2 separate regions of the Homo sapiens genome follow, and region 2 is linked to region 1. The links are contacts of gene promoters, found by promoter capture Hi-C in blood cells and fetal thymus (Javierre and others, 2016). All regions are on one chromosome and are shown on one strand. Each heading gives the region's core, a stretch centred on a gene start or on the middle of the fragment in contact. The rest is flanking DNA. Distances are from core to core; before and after follow the strand shown.

Region 1 (7,133 bases), core at 1,353-3,852:
TAACCACGTGGAATACCCAAACTGCTGGGCCTAAACCAAAAAGTTGAAGTATCAAGTCTTACATTTAGGTTAAAAAATGCAGTTATACACATTTAGGCACTAGGATTGCTGACAAAGTATTAGTTACAGTGATTATCAATGTGACCCACCCTATGGATGCTTAAAAAAAATTACATTCTGGAAAGCAGGAATAGAAATACTGTCTAGGTGTTAAATGGTCATTCTGAAAGTTGTACTGTTTAGTATTGCTTTGTAGGAGTCAGATGTTTGATGGATATTGACAAGCTGGAATGCATATAAAGAGTGACCAATAGAGGATTTGAATATATAAGGCTGGGCTCTCCGATTTGGTACACACTAGCTGCAAGTGGCAGTTAAAAATTTAAGTTCCTGGTGGGGTGCCGTGGCTCACACCTGTAATCTCAGCATTTTGGGAGGCCATGGAGGGTGGATCTTGAGGTCAAGAGATAGAAACCATCCTGGCCAACATGGTGGAACCCCGTCTGTACTAAAAATAAAAAAATTAGCCGGGTGTGGTGGTGGGCACCTGTAGTCCCAGCTACTCAGGAGGCTGAGGCAGGAGAATCGCTTGAACCCGGGAGGTAGAGGTTGCAGTGAGCTGAGATCGCGCCACTGCACTCCAGCCTGGCGACAGAGCGAGACTCCATCTCAAAAAAAAAAAAAAAAAAAAAAAAAAAAATTCCTCAGTTACACTAGCAACAATTCAAGTGCTTATTCCTCATAGGACTAGCGGCTACATGTTTGACAGTGCAGATAAAGAACATGTCTATCATGTATATCAGTTGTATTGAACAGCACGATAGGAATGGTTGAAACTGAGGATGTTCAGCAAGGAACAGAGAAGACTTAGTGGGTAATGAATACTGCAATCTGGTATTTGAAGGGCTGTCATGAAAAAGGTGAAGACTATTCCTATTTTATTCTATTATAGGCTTCAGGGAGTGTGGTTTGGCTTTAAGACTTTTTTTTTTTTTTGAGACGGAGTCTCGCTCTGTCGCCAAGGCTGGAGTGCGGTGGCGCGATCTCGGCTCACTGCAAGCTCCGCCTCCTGGGTTCAAGCCATTCTCCTGCCTCAGCCTCCCGAGTAGCTGGGACTACAGGCGCCCGCCACCACGCCCGGCTAATTTTTTGTATTTTTTTAAGTAGAGATGGGGTTTCACCATGTTAGCCAGGATGGTCTCGATCTCCTGACCTCATGATCCGCCCGCCTCTGCCTCCCAAAGTGCTGGGATTACAAGCGTGAGCCACCGCGCGGCCGGCTTTAACAATTTTTAAACAAAGGTTTACCACAGTGGAGTTGGCTGCCTTTCGAGATGGTGAGCTCTTTTACCTTCGAACTATTTAAGTGCATTCTGCATGTCTATTAGACACTATAGAGTTGGTTCGTTTTAGGTGAGAGGTTGGGCTAGATGACCTCTAAGGGTGTATCCTACCTCTAACTTCTGGGTTCAGACAAAACCAAAGTCCCAGACCTGCCCGCATGTGCGAATTTTTCCTTCATAATCAAGAAGTCAGTCTCCTTGGAGGGCTGGGAGCACCCCCACTCCTGTACTTTAAAAAGTGTATAGGGCTGTGCTTTAAGAGGATCCTCTTCTCAAACTTCCAGTTCTAGAGCCTGATTATCAAAAATAAAAATTCCTCTAGATTTCTCGGACATATTTGGTGACAAGCATTTGCTTTTGTTTGCTTTCATTATTCAATACTTTGGTCTCTAATCTGAACGAGGTCATAGAAGAGGCAGTGTTCTATGGGGGATGGAATTCCTAGAGTAGACTTTGACAAGGCGGGAAGGAGGGCAAATTGAGTCCCGTTGGGTTTGAAGTGGCAGCAGTATCCACTATCGGCGACTTACTGAAGAAAGAAGATAAGATGTTCTAGCTTGGCTGCATCTGCTTTCCCATCAGGGTCCAGCTACCTGCTAGAACAAACTATCACGGTGACCCATGACTCTGCCTTGGTTGAGGTTTGCCCTCAGTGTGGCTGGCTCCCCCATACCTTTGCACATCCCAATCTATCCATCCACCTAGATCTGCTCAGACGCTTTCTCATTCAACTCCCGAGCATTATTTATCCGTGACCTTCCCACATAATATTTCGTAGCGAGGTTACTTACGCAGAGGTCCGATCTCTCTGTTCATCTTCAAGCAACCTGAAGGCAGGCAGGGTCTGCGTCGGATCCAGTTCTGTGCCCCTTGGTAGGCACCCAGGACACTGCAGGCATCAATAAATATCGGTTGGGCAAGTACAGTTGCAGGATGAGGACAATCAATTCTTCCTCAAATGCCGGGAGAGCATCTCCATAGCGGTGCTCTGGGAGCCCGGAAGAAGGCAGGGGAGCGGTGCAGACAGCGTTGTATGCGGGCCGGGGCGGAGGGCTGAGGGCCCGAGCCGGGGCTAGAGGCGCGGCCGGGCCGCCCTCCTCGTGACTCCTCCTCCCCCCTCCGCGGCTCTGAGTCAGGTGATTCCGGCACGTGACGGGGCACCACCTACCCTGCTGCTCTCGAGTAGCAGCTCGGGCGGCCAATAAGCGGCTGGGCTTCGGCTCGGGGCCTATGAGAGCCGGGCTCCGGGGGGCGGGCCGGACTGTGGCGGCTGCCGGGGGCGGTGGCGGTGGTGGCGGCGGCGGCGGAGGCGGACTGGGGAGGCGGCGGCCTGGCTCGGCCTGGCCTGGCCTGTCAGGGCGCGGGCGGCGGCGGCTCCAGCACCATGTCCCTGCAGTACGGGGCGGAGGAGACGCCCCTCGCCGGCAGTTACGGCGCGGCCGATTCGTTTCCAAAGGACTTCGGCTACGGCGTGGAGGAGGAGGAAGAGGAGGCGGCGGCGGCGGGCGGAGGGGTTGGGGCAGGGGCAGGCGGTGGCTGTGGTCCGGGGGGCGCTGACAGCTCCAAGCCGAGGATTCTGCTCATGGGACTCCGGCGCAGCGGCAAGTCCTCCATCCAGAAGGTGAGCAGGGCTGCGCCCAGTCCCCCGCCCCCTCCCCGGTTCTCAGGTGGCCGGTAGCGGGGACGCCCGGGAGGGCGGCGGCCGGGGCCCGCCTGCGCTCCGTCCCTCCGCACTTTCTCTTCCACTCTTGCGAGCGCACAGGCGCGGCCCGCGCGGGGACCCCGACCTCTGTGTCCACGCCCAAGTCAGCTGAAGCCAAGTGGAGCGCTGAAGGCGAAACTGGTTGCCGGGAGGCAGGTGCCCGGTGGCACCGCCCAAGACCTCCGCCCCCTGGGACCCAGCTCCTGTGTCATTTACGAAACTGAGACGTACTCTCCAGTTCTCACTTGGAGAACTTCGTGGACTCCCTCCCCTGGCCCGTTTTGATTTGTTCTCACTTCAGGTGACCTGAGTGTTTCGGGATTCCCAGCAGAGCCCCAGGGAGCAGCGTCAGGAAGAGTTGTGACTAAGACACTGGGCGTTGTAATTCTCGCTACTGATGTGAAGGAGACTTCGCTGTAGCATTACTGGGAATTGGGTAGTGAGATTGCACCCATTTCAGTAGTTGTGGCCTGGTGAATGTAATTACTGGTGCTGTTCCCCCTGTAGGGGTGTGTTTTTAAAAATCTGAGACTTTGAGAATATTTTGCAGACCTAGTCTGTTTGTTTTCACTTTTGGGCCTTCATGAACAAATGGAGGGCTGTACACGTTTGTTTGTTTATGTTTTTGAGACGGAGTCTCTCGCTCTGTCGCCCAGGCTGGAGAATGCAGTGGTGCAATCTCGGCTCACTGCAACCTCCACCTCCCTGGTTCAAGTAATTCTCCCGCCTCAGCCTCCCGAATAGCTGGGATTACAGGCGCGCGCCACCACGCCCGGCTAATTATTGTATTTTTAGTAGAGACGGGGTTTCACCATGTTGGCCAGGGTCATCTCGAACTGCTGACCTCAAGTGATCATCCGCCTTGGCCTCCCAAAGTGCTGGGATTACAGGTGTGAGTCACCACGCTGGCCTACACTGTTTAGTGAGGGTTAAATAGAGGCAAGGTTGACTTCCTCCATCAGCCAAACCCATTATACGCGGAGTGAGCTGGTAATAAAACTAGTATCAGCAGGCACCTGGTCTTTTCACCTCTCCACTCTGTTGCAAAGGCCTATCCAAAATAAATCTGTGATTTTTTTTTCTTTCTGAATCTGTGATATTTTGTAGATGGGATCTTTTTAAAAAGCAGCGTTCTTCCAGGTTTGCTGGAGTACTGTGTTTTATTTACCTTGATTTTCACCTCTACAGCAAAACTTGGGTACGTTGACTGTAGGTTTTTAGTAAACTAATTTCAGTTATTCACATTTGTTACTGAGAAAACCTTGAGAGTAATTGTTCACTTTTCTCTTCTAGACAGTAAGAGGCAAAGTAGTTTTATGTTAGAACTGTGTAGGTTGTGATTATTGTGATCCTTTTTTTTTTGTTTGTTTGTTATGGAGTCTTGCTCATCGCCCAGGCTGGAGGGCAGTGGTGTGATCTTCACTCACTGCAGCCTCCACCTCCTGGGTTCAAGTGATTCTCCTGCCTCAGCTTCCCAAGTAGCTGGGACTACAGGCGTGCACCACCACGCCCGACTAATTTTGGTATTTTTAGTGGGGATGGGGTTTCACCATATTGGTCAGGCTGGTCTCGAACTCCTGACCTCAAGTGATCCGCCCGCCTCGGCCGCCTAAAGTGCTGGGATTGAAGGCGTGAGCCACCGCACCCGGGCCGATTATTGTGACTCTTAACAATTGCCTTTACGTTTCTTTTCTCATGAGAGCTATCTTTTCCCTGTCAGTCCCCGTGGCCTCCCCCTGGACGTTTTCACTTTCTACTTGGTATAGTTACTGCCCTTCTTAGACTGCAAAGTCAGTGAGGGCAGAGTCCAGTCTGTTTCACTTTTTAAATTACTCCTCAGAGCCTGAGGTAGGCATTCAAGTAATTTTTGAATAAACCAGACTTCTTAAGCTTTAGCTGTAAGACTTTTATAATCTTAAAGCAGATTTTGGTAGAATTAATGTTAGCTTTCCCCCAGAAAAACTAATGGAGGTGATAGAGATTGCTACTATTAGTACTGAGTATGGTGCATAGAACATAGGAGAAAAGATTTAGCTCCAAAATAGATTTAATGGAAATTAATTTGGTGTCTTCTTTTGTCAAAAATAAAGGGATAGTGAATACCAATGGATTCACCATTCAGTTTCTACTTTTCAAAAAAAATTTTTTTTTGTGGGATCAAATGTTTAAATGTTAAACCAGGGTGGAATTTTAAATTTAAATTCTGAAGTTTAATAGTCATAAAATTGCCTGTTTTCTTTTAACAGGTGGTGTTTCATAAGATGTCACCCAACGAGACCCTCTTTTTGGAAAGTACCAACAAGATTTATAAGGATGACATTTCCAATAGCTCCTTTGTGAATTTCCAGATATGGGATTTTCCTGGGCAAATGGACTTTTTTGACCCAACCTTTGACTATGAGATGATCTTCAGGGGAACAGGAGCATTGATATACGTCATTGACGCACAGGTAGTCAGTAATGTGTTTACTCCTCTTTCCTGGTGGGAAAAAGATGTAGAAACAAAGGAAAGTTGTTTATCTTCTTTGTCATGTGGTTGCAGCTTATCTCTTTGGCAGTAGATTCCCTAACAGTGTAAGAGATGCAGTTGCAGAGTGCTTTGGGAGCAGACATGCATTGTGCAGGTACAGAATATCAGATGATTAGGAGATATGGTTTACATCCTTGAGTCCTAGTTGATGAGCAGCTAACATTGGCTTTCCACTTTTATTGGTTGCCATATTTTATAATAATTTTATAATAATAGTGATGTTATTCCCTGAAAATATCCCATCCCATAACATAAAGAGGAATATGAGAACTGAGTCAGTAGATATTAGAGTGAATAGTTTACTTAATTGTCAAAATTGAGTTTAGCTCAACAAACATTTATGGAGGGCCTAGCATGTGGCAGTCAGTGAGATGAATGGGGCAAGTCCCTATCCTTTAAGAAGCTTACTTTTTATAAGCTTAAGCATTAGTTAAGAATGCTTTCTGAGTGATAGGCTCTACAGAGGGTGCCTTCACGTACAGGACCTAATTAATTTAAGCTTCACAATATTGTTAGGTAGGTATTGTAATTCTGATCTTACAGATGAGAAAACTGAGATCAGAGTTTAAGCAGCTTGCTTAAAGTGACACACTGAATAAATGGCAGAGCTGGGATTACTTAAAAAAATTATGTTGGGAAAAAATGTTCATATCATTTTTTTCTTTCTTAAATTAATATTAAAAATTACAAGCATTAACTTGGTAATTGAATTTTTTTATCTTGAGACAATTGAAGAGTTATTTAGTAGTATAGTATATTTGAATGTTTGAATATTGATGATAATTAGGATAGTATTTTTCTGTGGTTGGGGAAAGAGGTGGTTTGAGGCTTTAACTCATTACTTGGCTTTTGTAAGATTTATTTTAAAAAATATTTTGTTCTGACTTACAGGATGACTACATGGAGGCTTTAACAAGACTTCACATTACTGTTTCTAAAGCCTACAAAGTTAACCCAGACATGAATTTTGAGGTTTTTATTCACAAAGTTGATGGTCTGTCTGATGATCACAAAATAGAAACACAGAGGGACATTCATCAAAGGGCCAATGATGACCTTGCAGATGCTGGGCTAGAAAAACTCCATCTTAGGTAACAACATGTGTGTTTGATATGAAAGCCCTGAACAAGGTGTAAATGTATTCCCATCTCTGTCATTACAAACACCATAGCTTTCTGCTACCTGTGTGCCCTTTGCCACATCTTTTATGTTTTTGATCTTGTTGTTGAATTCCAGGCTGTCTGGGGAGCCTGATATTGAGAAATTACCCACTTTTTGCGTTTTCCTGGAGATTGAAGTCATGTGAAGTGTTTCCACTGGTGCTTTTCCAAATTCATCTCAAGAGACTGGAGTCAGGCTGTTTCTTCATGGCATAAATCTGCTTTGGGACTCCTTCCTCTTGGTTTCATTACTTTTCCCCGCCTTGCATCAGTGAAGTGAATCTGTCACATTTGTTGTGGAAGTCTTTAGCTTGAGTCTTAGACAGTATCTTTCTCAGTAGGAACAGCCTTATACAGAGAGTGCACTTTCAAATCTGGACTGACTCTTTTTATTTTTC
Region 2 (7,133 bases), core at 2,308-4,807, 1.0 Mb after region 1:
AGAGACATATTCCTGGCAGTCTGGTGGGTACCAGTCACTATTCACATACTTCCAGCAAGAAATGGTTATGGCACTGACCTGAACCCCTTGACCCCTGGTCTGGTCTTTGGAGTTGTCCCACTCTGAATATTCGAGAGAAGCAGCTTATGGTTAAAACAGGCAGTGGCAGCTGGGAGGATCTAACAGCTAGATCCTCCAGGCATTTGGAAAGGACAGGGGCATAACGAAGGCAGAATCGCTTCCTGGGTACGAATGCCCACTACTTCTGGGCACTGTGAAATGGGTTTAAGACGCGGGCCAGCAGGACAATGTGAACGGTGAAAGGAAGGGAGTGGCCGGTAGGTGGCGCTAACTGGCCCGGGCATGAGTCCCGCCGTAGCCGCGTCCTCTTGCAGGGGAAGAAAGTTGGGACCGCCAGCCTGGGCAAGCGCGTGAGAAGGGAGCTGGGGGTCCTAGGCAAGCGCGTGAGAAGGGGAAGAGGCGGCGGCGTCCTCTCCAGCTGGGCTTAGAATACTCTTAGTTCTGCCTTTGGGGTCTTGTCTTCCTTTCTGGGCCTCCTGCCTGTGTTAACTTTGATGGGTGCTGAAGGGAAGGCCGGGGTCCCGGCAGGAGAAACCCGGGAACGTCGCGGCCGTCCAGGCTCCCCTGGCGGGTTGGAGCCAGGGTTCTGACTGCCAACTGTGGTCCTTCCCGCTGCGGCTGTGGCTGCCAGGGCGAGGGCGGTCAGCGCAAACCTGGCTGAGGACATTTCGGATTCTTCCTTGGGGATTCGTTCCCTTCTCCTTGACTCCGGTGCCGCGAGGGCGACACCCTCCGGGCCCCGCGTGGCCACCCCGGGCGCTTCCCCACGCGGATGAACCCACCTCCTGGGCGCCTTCCCCTCGGTGCCCCGCTCGCCAATTGGAGGCTGCAGCTCAGCCCCCTGACAACCTGAGCCAACCAGAGGCGCCAGGGAGGGGCGGATCCTCTGTCCCCACCTTCCTCCGGAAAGAGGAAGCGGAAGTGACGTTAGGGGAAGGTGGGGGCAATCATGGTGCCGCTGGGGAGGGGAGAAGCTGCTGCTGCCGCCGTTGCCGGGAGCCGCGGAGGTAAAAGGCGAAACTAGACTCGGCCTGGGCTTGGGACTTACCGGGAGGCGCGGGACTTAGGCTCCCTCCTGAAGCATTTCCCAATAGAGACCTCAGTTTGGTCACCATAGGGACCCCACCCCTTCTCCGTTTCCATGGGGATGGGTATCCAGCCCCCCTTCCCTGTTTCCATGGAGACCCGGACCCTGCCCCTCTCCTCCTTGCTTGGAGACCCCCAGCTTGTCTTCGGATTTTTCTGTGTAGCCCTGTGCTGGGGGCTATCCCAGACAGGTTCCTTTTCCCAGCCTCCTCTCAAGGGGGCTCTGTTCGCACTCCTCGTTGGCTACCCTCAAACCTCCTGGTCTTGTTTGTTTCGGACAGTTGGTCTCCGCGTTGCCGCCGAGGGTGCCGGGGCAGCCCACTGGGGCCCTCGGTGCTCTTCTCTCTCTGCTCAGATGCAGCGAAATGTACATCTGTGGGGTTGCGTAAGCCAGAGCTAGGGGTCGGGCCGGTACCTCCCGGATCCAATCCTTTGGCCTGTCTCTGGTAACTGTCTAGCCATCCCACTAAGTAAAGGCTCACTTTCTAACCCAGAGCAGAAGAGAAAGATAAAGCGCAAAGCCAGACTGAAAACTAAAAGGGATGTGCTGATTATTTTAAAATTCTCTATTCTGCCTGCCAAACCCACATTTGTAGAGCCTGTGTTTGCAGATGAAGGAAGAATCACTATTCCAGAACATGAAAGCTTCAAATGTGGTATTTTTCTCAAGAGAATGTATCTTCCCAAGATAGTATATCTTCACGAGAGAGTAGGTAGCCATGTCTTTCAGTCATTTAGCTGACATTTCCTGAACTCTTATCATAGTATCAGTGTACTATGCTAGGAGCTGTAGAAACAAAAATAATAAGACTCAATTGATTCAGGGACGAGAGCCCACCACAGAACCATAACTTCTTGTTGACACCATATTGTTTTAGGACATAAATAGATACAGTGATCTTCGTTGTTTGTGCCTGATTGAGGAATAGCCCTTCCACCCAGAAGGTTGAAACATCTGTTCTAGGTAGGGGGGAAGGAATTCATACTTGTTCCTCTACTATTTACCAAACATTGTGCTTTACATATGTTGCCTCTTTTATTTCTTATAAAAACTTTGAGAGAACAGGAATTACTGGTCCCACCTTGCACGTAAGAAAAATGAGGCACAGAAAAGTTACCCATGTAGTAAAAGGCAAAGACAGGATTTGTAGGTAGATGACTCTGCCTCCAAAGCCTTGCTCCTTCTACCATAAACTGCATGAAACCATTTACTGCCTCGTGGTCTGATTTGGAGGATATTTGAATGGATGGAGTTTCCCTTAAGATTTGTAGCAACTCAGCCTTTCAGCAGCTGCTGTTCTGTTTGCTCTTTTGTCCCCTTTAAATATTTTGACCAAGTTTCAAATTGTTTGACAGGCGTATTCAGAAGGTCTTATGAACTTATTCAGTTTTTGAAAAGCATTGCTTTTCTTTCTTTTTCTTTTTTTTTTTTTTTTATTAGAGATGGGGGTCTCACTATGTTGACCAGGCTGATCTCAAACTCCTGGCCTCAAGCGATCCTCCCATCTTAGCCTCCCAAAGTGTTGGGATTACAGGTGTGAGCCACCACGCCCAGTCGGCATTGCTTTTCTTTAAAAATGACTTGATGGTTTTAAAGTTAAAATAAAAAAATTATTCCCAAGGATGGTTTTTCATTTGCTTTGGCTTGCTCTTTAAGTGAGAGGGAAAATGAGCCTTGTGGTTGCTGAGGAGGTCCGTCGGTCTTGTGGTATGACTCTAACTCTGGCTTTGTTCTGTTGCAGACAAGTCATTACGTTTTCATTTCTCACAACTGGGCTGAGCACAACTGAACCATGGGGGAACACAGTCCAGACAACAACATCATCTACTTTGAGGCAGAGGAAGATGAGCTGACCCCCGATGATAAAATGCTCAGGTTTGTGGATAAAAACGGACTGGTGCCTTCCTCATCTGGAACTGTTTATGATAGGACCACTGTTCTTATTGAGCAGGACCCTGGCACTTTGGAGGATGAAGATGACGACGGACAGTGCGGAGAACACTTGCCTTTTCTAGTAGGGGGTGAAGAGGGCTTTCACCTGATAGATCATGAAGCAATGTCCCAGGGTTATGTGCAGCACATTATCTCACCAGATCAGATTCATTTGACAATAAACCCTGGTTCCACACCCATGCCAAGAAATATTGAAGGTGCAACCCTCACTCTGCAGTCGGAATGTCCGGAAACAAAACGTAAAGAAGTAAGTAAAGCAGTCAGTGAGGGCCTAGTTTGGTTTTGGGGCAAGTCCTTACAAAATTCTTGGTGCAAATTTTAGCTGGGGAGTAAAGGAGTGCATGGGGTTAGGACTTAAGTAGTTTTGCTATCAACAACATATGCCTCAGGTTTTGTTGTGATTGCTTCTGGAACTTTTGGTTTGTATAGCCACATTGAAATTTGGGAATATCAAATTGTAATTTCTCGAATTTCCTTCCCCAAATCATAAATAAAACAGAAATTTCACTTAAGTAGACCCATGTTTCTGGTGCTAAAATAACTATTTAGCTTATCTACAGGGAAATAACTGGAGTTTGCTTATTTGATGAAGAAATAACTATATTTGGCTTATCTCCTGGTTGTGTTTAAATGATTTGTTTTAGAGATGAGTATCTGCTGGAATATGTTTTATTATCTTAGTGAATGTTTAATGAACTTTTATTTCACAGTGGCACACGCCTGTAATCCCAGCACTTTGGGAGGCTGAGGCGGGTGGATCATTTGAGGTCAGGAGTTCGAGAGCAGCCTGGCCAACATGGTGAAACCCTGTCTCTGCTAAAAATACAAAAATTAGCCAGGCTTGGTGGCACATGGCTGTAATCCCAGCTACTCAGGAGGCTGAGGCAGGAGAATCACTTGGACCCGGGAGGCAGAGGTTGCAGTGAGCCGAGATCATGCCACTGTACTCCAGCCTGGGCGATAGAGTGAGACTCCATCTAAAAAAAAAAAAAAAAAAAGAAAGAAATTCAGGCTGGGCACAGTGGCTCATGCCTGTAATCCTAACACTTTCTGTAATCCCAGCACTTTGGGAGGCCGAGGCAGGTGGATCACCTGAGGTTAAGAGCACCCTGGCCAACATGGTGAAACTCCATCTGTACTAAAAATAGAAAAATTAGCCAGGCATAGTGGCGGGTGCCTGTAATCCCAGCTATTTGGGAAGCTGAGGCAGGGGAATTACTTGAATCTGGGAGGTGGAGGTGGCAGGGAGCCAAGATCGTGCCACTGCACTCCAGGCTGGATGAGAGAGAGAGACTCAGTCTCAAAAAAAAAAAAAAAAAAAAAAAAAGGAAATTCAGGCAAGAGACAGTAAATGAGAGCAGGTTATCTAAAATAAGTTTTCATTTTCATGTTTAGCTAATGTGAGTAAGCTAATGCATGTCAGGATGTTTTGAAAACTGTAAAGCATTTTACAAATTATATTAGTGGTTATTATTAGCAGAATAAAAGTTCTGGTTTAAAGGTAGTGATATACATTATCTAGGAACTATTTTTTTTTTTGAGATGGAGTTTCACTCTTGTTGCCTAAGCTGGAGTGCAGTGGTGCGATCTTGGCTCACTGCAACCTCTGCCTCCTGGGTTCTAGCAATTCTCCTGCCTCAGCCTCCTGAGTAGCTGGGATTACAGGCACGCACCACCATGCCCAGCTAATTTTTTGAATTTTTAGTAGAAATGAGGTTTCACCATGTTAGCCAGGCTGGTCTCGAACTCTTGACCTCAGGTGATCCACCTGCCTTGGCCTTCCAAAGTGCTGGGATTACAGGCATGAACCACCATGCCCGGCCCATCCAGGAACTATTACAGGTCAATTAGAAAAAAATAAGTCACTAGTAGTTACAGTACCAAGGACTAAGATGTTACCAAACAGAAATAGGGTGAATGATTTAGCAAGGAATATCTTTTTTGCTGTGGTTGAGGTCTTAAAATTGCATATGGCTTATTGATGGCATATCACTTTTCCTTTGCTAGCCTTAGAGAGACCATCTTGTCCCACCTCCTACCCTATGCAGAAATCTCCCTATGGCATCCCTGACATCAGTTAATCTTGTTTCTGCTTGAAGACATCCAGAACAACAAGAGCAGAGTGTTTCATACCCCAACCCAATACATTTGTTAGCCAGCTCTGATTGTTAGAAAGCTTTTACTTGTATAGAACCAAAACCTGCCTTTCTGCAGGTGCTGCCCACTGGTTCTAGATCTGCCTTCCTGAGTAAACTTTCTCCCACAGAACAGTCCATCAGCTATTTGAAGATCATGGATTTTTCTTCCTCTTGTACAGGCTAACCACCTCCATTTACTTAAATGTCCCTCTGTGACATTTTCCCCAGTCTCTCATCAGCCTAGTCACCTTTGATTATATGAATTCCAGTTTTCCAAGGTCCTTTTTTTCTTCTTTTTTTGAGATGGAGTTTTGCTGTTGTTGCCCAGGCTGGAGTGCAGTGGCGTGATCCCGGCTCACTGCAACCTCCGCCTCCCAGGTTCAAGCGATTCTCCTGCCTCAGCCTCCCAAGTAGCTGGGATTACAGGCATGCGCTACCACACCCAGCTAATTTTGTATTTTTAGTAGAGACAGGGTTTCTCCATGTTGGTCAGGCTGATCTCGAACTCCTGACCTCAGGGGATATGCCTGCCTTGGCCTCCCAAAGTGCTGGGATTACAGGCATGAGCCACCGCGCCCGGCCCCAGAGTCCTTTTAAAATCTGCAGTTGAGCGCAGTCTCATAAGTGTGAGTCAACTAGCACTGAATACAGTATGGCTCTTATCTCTTAATCTGGACACTGTACTACAATTACTATATAGTCTACATTTTATCAGCAACATCTTACTGTTAGCTTATAGTTGGAAATTTCTAGAGTAGTGCTTCTTAACTGCGGGCAGCTTTGCCCTCAGGAGATGTTTGGCAATGTCTAGAAACATTTTGTATTGTCATACTGTGGAGGCGATACTGGAATCTAGTGGGTAGAGGTTAAAGACATTGTTAAATGTTTTACAGTGCACAGGACAGCCCCCTACAACAAAGAACTGGCCCAAAATAGTGATAGTGCTGGGATTGAGAAACCCTGCTCTAGATTATTCTCATGTATGCAGCTGTCAGATCTAACAAAAATGAAAATGGAGACCTGCATGTAAGCCTTATTAAGAATATCTCCCGGCTGGACATGGTGGCTCACGCCTGTAATCCCAACACTTTGGGAGGCCAAGGCTGGTGGATCACCTGAGGTCAGGAGTTCGAGACTAGCCTGGCCAACACAATGAAACCCTGTGTCTATTAAAAATACAAAAAATTAGCCGGGCGTGGTGGCAGACGCCTGTAATCCCAGCTACTCTGGAGACTGAGGCAGGGGAATTGCTTGAACCCGGGAGGTGGAGGTTGCAATGAGCCAAGATGGTGCCACTGCACTCCAGCCTGGGCAACAAGAGCAAAACTCCATCTCAAAAAATAAAAAATAAAAATATCTCCCTATGAAATTTTATCTTGTTGGTTTCAGTCCAATATTTGAGCTTGTAGGGGGGTTCATTTCAACTCAACAAACATTTATAAAGCAAAATGCTGTTATGCTCTGTGGATGTTGCAAATGATTGTGGTAGTCGATTTATAGCATAGAAGCAGAAATTGTTTACACCAATAATCATAGCAGCAAACACAGTGTGGTAAATGTGAAGGAGAGGTACAAATATTGCACTGTGAGCACAGGGAAGCTCACCCTTAATTCTGGGATCAGGGAAGTCTTTGTGAAAAAGGTGGCGTTTGAGCTGGTCTTAAAGAATACATACAATTTAGGAAAAAAGCAGGAGAAGGTTTTTCCAAGAGAGAGGAACAGCATGAAACAAGGAATGCAGGTGGGAAACAGGCCATTTTCAGGGAATAGCCAGTTGTCCTGTTACAACAGAGTCAGCACACTTTTTTCTGCTTAGGGCTAAATAGTAAATATTCTGGGCTTTGCAGGCTATAAGGTCTCTGTTGGAGCTACTC

Evidence for each region. Contacts are between HindIII fragments. The CHiCAGO score rates a contact against its expected background, and 5 or more counts as called.
Region 2: a fragment that was not itself captured here is called in contact with the fragment with the promoter of RRAGC in region 1 in 3 of 17 cell types (naive CD8 T cells, naive B cells and neutrophils); the score reaches 5.6 in naive CD8 T cells.

Annotation. Positions count from the first base shown.
Region 1 is chr1:38,855,241-38,862,373 of GRCh38, reverse strand. It overlaps RRAGC (Ras related GTP binding C), which reads left to right and starts at 2,602. Exons shown (of 7, transcript NM_022157.4): 1 at 2,602-2,964; 2 at 5,292-5,495; 3 at 6,467-6,666. The coding sequence starts at 2,728. It overlaps RRAGC-DT (RRAGC divergent transcript), which reads right to left and starts at 2,481. Exons shown (of 2, transcript NR_186075.1): 1 at 2,135-2,481. RefSeq lists an enhancer at 2,383-2,677 and a silencer at 2,313-3,072. The HindIII fragment of the contact is 4,947 bases long and covers 1-4,937 here.
Region 2 is chr1:37,853,486-37,860,618 of GRCh38, reverse strand. It overlaps MTF1 (metal regulatory transcription factor 1), which reads left to right and starts at 1,027. Exons shown (of 11, transcript NM_005955.3): 1 at 1,027-1,088; 2 at 2,910-3,368. The coding sequence starts at 2,961. RefSeq lists a silencer at 761-1,090. The HindIII fragment of the contact is 3,485 bases long and covers 1,815-5,299 here.